Regions from separate parts of the Homo sapiens genome. Here region 1 is linked to region 2. The links are contacts of gene promoters, found by promoter capture Hi-C in blood cells and fetal thymus (Javierre and others, 2016). All regions are on one chromosome and are shown on one strand. The core of a region is centred on a gene start or on the middle of the fragment in contact, and the rest is flanking DNA. Distances in the headings are between cores, read along the strand shown.

What was found. Contacts are between HindIII fragments. The CHiCAGO score rates a contact against its expected background, and 5 or more counts as called.
Region 1: a contact is called between a fragment that was not itself captured here and the fragment with the promoter of ABTB2 in region 2, in 2 of 17 cell types (M2 macrophages and megakaryocytes). The highest score is 5.7, in M2 macrophages.

Annotation. Positions count from the first base shown.
Region 1 is chr11:34,092,909-34,095,608 of GRCh38, reverse strand. All of the region lies in intron 15 of CAPRIN1 (cell cycle associated protein 1), which reads right to left. Among named protein-coding and RNA genes, the nearest start is that of NAT10, 11 kb to the left of the region's middle. The HindIII fragment of the contact is 6,491 bases long and covers 1-2,700 here.
Region 2 is chr11:34,356,594-34,359,293 of GRCh38, reverse strand. It overlaps ABTB2 (ankyrin repeat and BTB domain containing 2), which reads left to right and starts at 1,284. Exons shown (of 17, transcript NM_145804.3): 1 at 1,284-2,593. The coding sequence starts at 1,711. RefSeq lists a silencer at 1,099-1,298 and an enhancer at 2,249-2,358. The HindIII fragment of the contact is 9,392 bases long and covers 1-2,700 here.

The DNA.
Region 1 (2,700 bases), core at 174-2,673, 260 kb after region 2:
AACCCAAATCTCCCCTTTTGGGGCAGAGAGAAAAGCAGCTGTATGACTCTTGAAAATCTTTACTTGACCTATTTTACACCCTTAAGAAACTCCAAATACATTAATAGTTGTTAGAATCCTATTTTACGATGAAAGCACTAGGGAATACCTAGAGAAAAAGAGAGAGCCACTGCTCCTCTTGAATTACTTAGTAAACCAACTACATCGGTGTCATCTTTTTACATAGATTGCCTTTTATTATATTCCCAAAATTTAAAATTGTAAGTGAATGACAAATACACATAACATTTTCCTTGTAAAATGGTTCATGTGTATCCATGTACAAAGTAGCCAAAAGAACTGAATTTTAGAATCATTTTATCAATAACAGCTTTTAATCTTGATCAAATCTCACTGTAAGAAATTCATAGCCAGGCTGGGTGTAGTGGCTCACACTGGTAATCCCAGCACTTTGGGAGGCCAAGCTGAGCAGATTACTTGAGCTCAGGAGTTTGAGACCAGCTGGGCAACACAGTGAGACCCCATCTCAACAACAACAACAACAACAAAATACAAAAAATTAGCCAGGCATGGTGGTGCATGCCTGTGGTCCCAGCTACTTGGGAGGCTGAGGTGAGAGGATGGCTTAAGCCTGGAAGGAAGAAGTTGTAGTGAGCCGAGATCGTACCACTGCACTCCAGCCTGGGAGACAAGAGCAAGACTCTGTCTCAAAAAATGAAAGGAAAAAGGAAAGGAAAGAAAGGAAGAAACTCACAGCATAATAACTTAAGTGTGATCTTTATTTTATTTAATTTTCACTTTTAAGACAAGGTCTAGCTCTCTCACCCAGTACTGCTGAGGTTGGAGTTCAGTCAAATAATCTTGGCTCACTGCAACCTTGAACTCCTGGGCTCAAGTGATCCTCCGGCCTTAGCCTCCTGAGTAGCTACAACTACAGGCATTCACCACCTCACCCTGCTAATTTCTGTATTTATTTTATAGAGGTGGGGCTCTGTGTTGCCCAGGCTGGTCTCAAACTCCTGGTCTCAAGTGGGCCTCCCAAAGAGCTGGGATTACAGGCGTGAGCCACCACACCCAGCCTTCATTTTATTTTAAAATACCCAAATTCCTACTTAAATTTTGGTAAAGTATAAACTTGTAGGCCATTTTAAAAAGCCAAAGATTCTGTCATGTTGTTCCTGATTAGACACTAATTCAAAATAAAATTTCTAAAATGATGGGACATACTGAAATGATTTCTTCAACAAATATCAGGCCGGGAATGGTGGCTCACGCCTGTAATCCCAGCACTTTGGAAGGCCGAGGCGGGTGGATCACCTGAGGCCTGAGGCAGGAGGCCGAGGCAGGAGAATCGCTTGAACCCAAGCGATTGAACCTAAGAGGCGGAGGTTGCAGTGAGCCGAGACTGCATCACTGCACTGGACAACGGCCCACAATGTATACATATTATTTCATCATGAACGCCTGGCCTCAAGCAATCCTGCCACCTCAGCCTCAAATGTAGCTGGGATTATAGGTGCCAGCCATGAAGCCCGCCCACAACGGACACACATTTCAACACATCATGCTGTATACCATAAATACACATATATATAGTTTCTACTTCTCAATTAAAAATAAACAAATGAACTTTTTTTAAAAAAATAGAAAAAGCAATCCATGTACTTATCAGTGGGAGAAAGTTTTCGGCAAGAAGGAAAGTAAGTATGAAGGCCCTGAGATTAAAGAGAACTTGCTGCGTATGTGACTGGTGTTCGAGACCAGCCTGGACAATATGGTGAAACCCTCTCTCTACTAAAAATACAAAAAAAAAAAAAATTAGCCAGGCATGGTGGCCTGTGCTACTTGGGAGACTGAGGTAGGAGGATCCCTTGAACCCAGAAGCAGAGGTTACAGTGAGCCATGGTGATCACACCACTAGTTTTTATCATTTGGAAGCTGAGCATAGTATAACTGATAACTTCTATCAGAGTATGGAAGATTCGAGCTTCATATTAGTGATACTGAATACTACAGGATGTGTAAGAATTTACTACTGAAAAATCTAATGCTGATCCAAGTTTACCAAGAAATTGAATAATTAGAAAATTTTACAACTTTTCAAAATCGGGCTGACAAAATGAAAGTATTAACTCCTCTGACTGCTGGTTTGTTGTGGGATTCCAATTAAATTCTGAGGAATTAAAGAACTAAAGAAGACATCATGGTGGCTCATGCCTATAAGGTAGAGGTGGGAGGACTGCTGGAGGCCCTGAGTTTGAGAAAAGCCTGCAGTCCAAGCTACTTGTGGGGAGTTAAAGGCTCCAGTACAGGATTTGAGCCCCAGAGTTAAAGGCTCCAGTATCTGATTACACCACTGCACTCCAACCTGGGCAACAGACAGAGACCCCATTTCTTAAAAAAATATATATATAAAAAAAAATCTAAAGTATCTCTATCGAGCTAGACAAGGTAGTTCATGCCCATAATCCCACCACTCTGGGAGACAGAGACAATAAGTTCGCTCAAGGCAAGGAGTTGGAGATCAGCCTGGCATCATAGTGAGCTCCTGGAGACCCTATCTCTACAAAAAAAAAAAAAAAATTAGCCAGCCATGGCGGTAAGCACCTGTAGTCCCAACTACCAACTACTCAGGAGGCTGAGGGAGGAGGATCATTGAGCCCAGGAGTTTGAGGCTGCAGTGAGTTATGCTGGCATCAC
Region 2 (2,700 bases), core at 35-2,534:
CGGCCCAAGGTCAGAACTGTGTAAAATGCAACACAAAGGAGCCATTCAGGAGTGGGGGAGGCTGACTTGGGGAGAGCGAATGCACAATCCCCGCCTTGAGCCTGCGGTTCCACTGGAGGGGGCACAGGTCCGTTTGCGCACGTGCGTGTGAGTAGCCACAGGGCAGCGGCGGGACATGCCTGCACCGGGCATGGGACTGCTGAACCAACAGCGCTCTGGCGGACCGTTTGGGACACCCGCCCGGAGGCAGGTTGGCACTGGCGCTGCCTGGAGGTCAGCCACTCATTGTACCCCGGAGGAACTGGGTCCCGCGGGGGCATACGGCTCGCCCACCGGCACGCGTTAGGAGGCGAACACCTGCATCCAGCTAGGTGTTCCGAGCTCAGCCCAGGGCGAGGGACTGCTCTGCCACCTTCTTCTCATTCTTCCTGTAAGAACACTGTCTATCTCGGACAAAAAGGACCCACCTGACAGCAAGTGGTATCGTCACACAGAGGTAACAGGGAAGTCACGGATCCTCTTGAGAATCTGACAAAAGTTGGTGCCCCTTCCCCATAGTGGCACTCAGAAAACTGCAGGTGAAACCACAAATGGGCGGAGGCACTCACAGGCTTCCTGGGGCCCGTCCATTGATCAGATACCAGGTTAAGAAATTCTGTCCTTATTGGAGCCTAGACGGCAGCGCAAAGGAACCAGACGGACTTGGAAAGAGAGGCAGGGACTCCCTCCTCCCTCCAAACACAGCCAGCGTTTCATCTCGGATTGCGGGAGGGGCCTGGCGGAAGGTGGAGGAGAGGTGGAGCGCCTGGATGGGGCCCTCCCCATTCTCCTGGCCCCAACCCCAGGACGCCTGGCTGCGGAGGGCTCGAAAGCGAGCAGCGAACGCCCAAAGCCTGGGTGGCGGGAAGGTGGCAGCGCCCTGTAGCTTTTCCTTTGCATTTTTCTTTAAATCGTGAGCTCCGGAGCTATCGTTTCGACCGCTGCTTTCCGGTCTCCACCTCCACCTCCCAGTTGGCTGGCTCGCCCTTCCCCCACCCCCCCATCCCCCCCATCCCCCCCCATCCCCACCCCCATCCCAGCCGCGTGCCCGACCCTCGGCCTCCAGCCCCGCCTCCTTCGCCGCGGGGTTTAACCCGAGGCAGAGTGAAATCTGCATAGTGACCGCCCCCTCGGAGATCATTGGTGCAGCCCCGCCCATCGCGGCCGGTGATTGGTAAGCCGCCCGGGGTTATTTGCATGTCGGACGCAGCCGGGTACCCAGCTGTGCTGCCGGCCGGCGCAGCGCAGAAGTTTGCAGAGCGCTTTCTCGCCGGCTGGTCCCGGACTCGCGCTGCGCCCTGCGCCCTGCGCCGCCGCCTCCTCCTTCTGCCGCCGCCGCCCTGTTCTCCCGGGATTCCTTCTCTGTGGAGGACTGACTCTCTGCTTGTGGGAATTAGAGGTGGACAAGGGGGAGTGCCGGGGGGTAGCGACGGGGTTCTTTCCAGTGGCAGCTGCGAGTCGGGACGCCGGGAGCGTGGGGCTCCTGCTGGCCACGGATCTCGGCCACCTTCCCGCGGCCTCCGGGCAGGCAATGCGGCCGCCGAGCCCCGCGACGCAGAGAGGAAGGAGGGTGGCCCGGAGGGCCTAGAGCTTGTTTCTGCCCACTTGGGAAAGAGGGCATGGAGTTGTGAGTGCCCCTCGCTCGGCGACGCCGCCCTCGGCAGGCTCCCCATGGCCGGGACGTACAGCTCGACTCTGAAGACGCTGGAGGACTTGACCTTGGACTCCGGGTATGGGGCCGGGGACTCGTGCCGCTCGCTCAGCCTCTCGTCCTCCAAGTCCAACTCGCAGGCGCTCAACTCTTCGGCGCAGCAGCACCGCGGGGCGGCCTGGTGGTGCTACTCCGGCTCCATGAACAGCCGCCACAACAGCTGGGACACGGTGAACACGGTGCTGCCCGAGGACCCCGAAGTGGCCGACCTCTTCTCGCGCTGTCCGCGGCTCCCCGAGCTGGAGGAGTTCCCCTGGACCGAAGGAGACGTGGCCCGGGTGCTCCGCAAAGGCGCTGGCGGCCGGCGGCTGCCCCAGTTCTCCGCCGAGGCGGTGAGGCGCCTGGCCGGGCTGCTCCGCAGGGCACTGATCCGCGTGGCCCGCGAGGCGCAGCGCCTGAGCGTGCTGCACGCCAAGTGCACCCGCTTTGAGGTGCAGAGCGCCGTGCGCCTGGTGCACAGCTGGGCGCTGGCCGAGAGCTGCGCGCTGGCAGCCGTCAAGGCGCTGTCCCTGTACAGCATGAGCGCCGGCGACGGGCTGCGCCGGGGCAAGTCCGCGCGCTGCGGCCTCACCTTCTCAGTGGGTCGCTTTTTCCGCTGGATGGTGGACACCCGAATCTCCGTGCGCATCCACGAGTACGCAGCCATCTCCCTCACCGCCTGCATGGAGAACCTGGTGGAGGAGATCCGGGCCAGGGTGATGGCCAGCCACAGCCCTGATGGCGGAGGGGCCGGAGGCGGGGAGGTGTCTGCTGAGGCCCTGGAGATGGTCATCAACAACGACGCCGAGCTCTGGGGCGTCTTGCAGCCCTATGAGCATCTCATCTGCGGCAAGAACGCCAATGGTAAGCGCGCGGGCCTCGGACTGGCAGACTGGGTAGGCAAGAAATCCCGCCCTGGGCTACTGGGGGAGTGAATTTCCTGAGACAAAGCTGGTGGCTGTGCCAGTTCT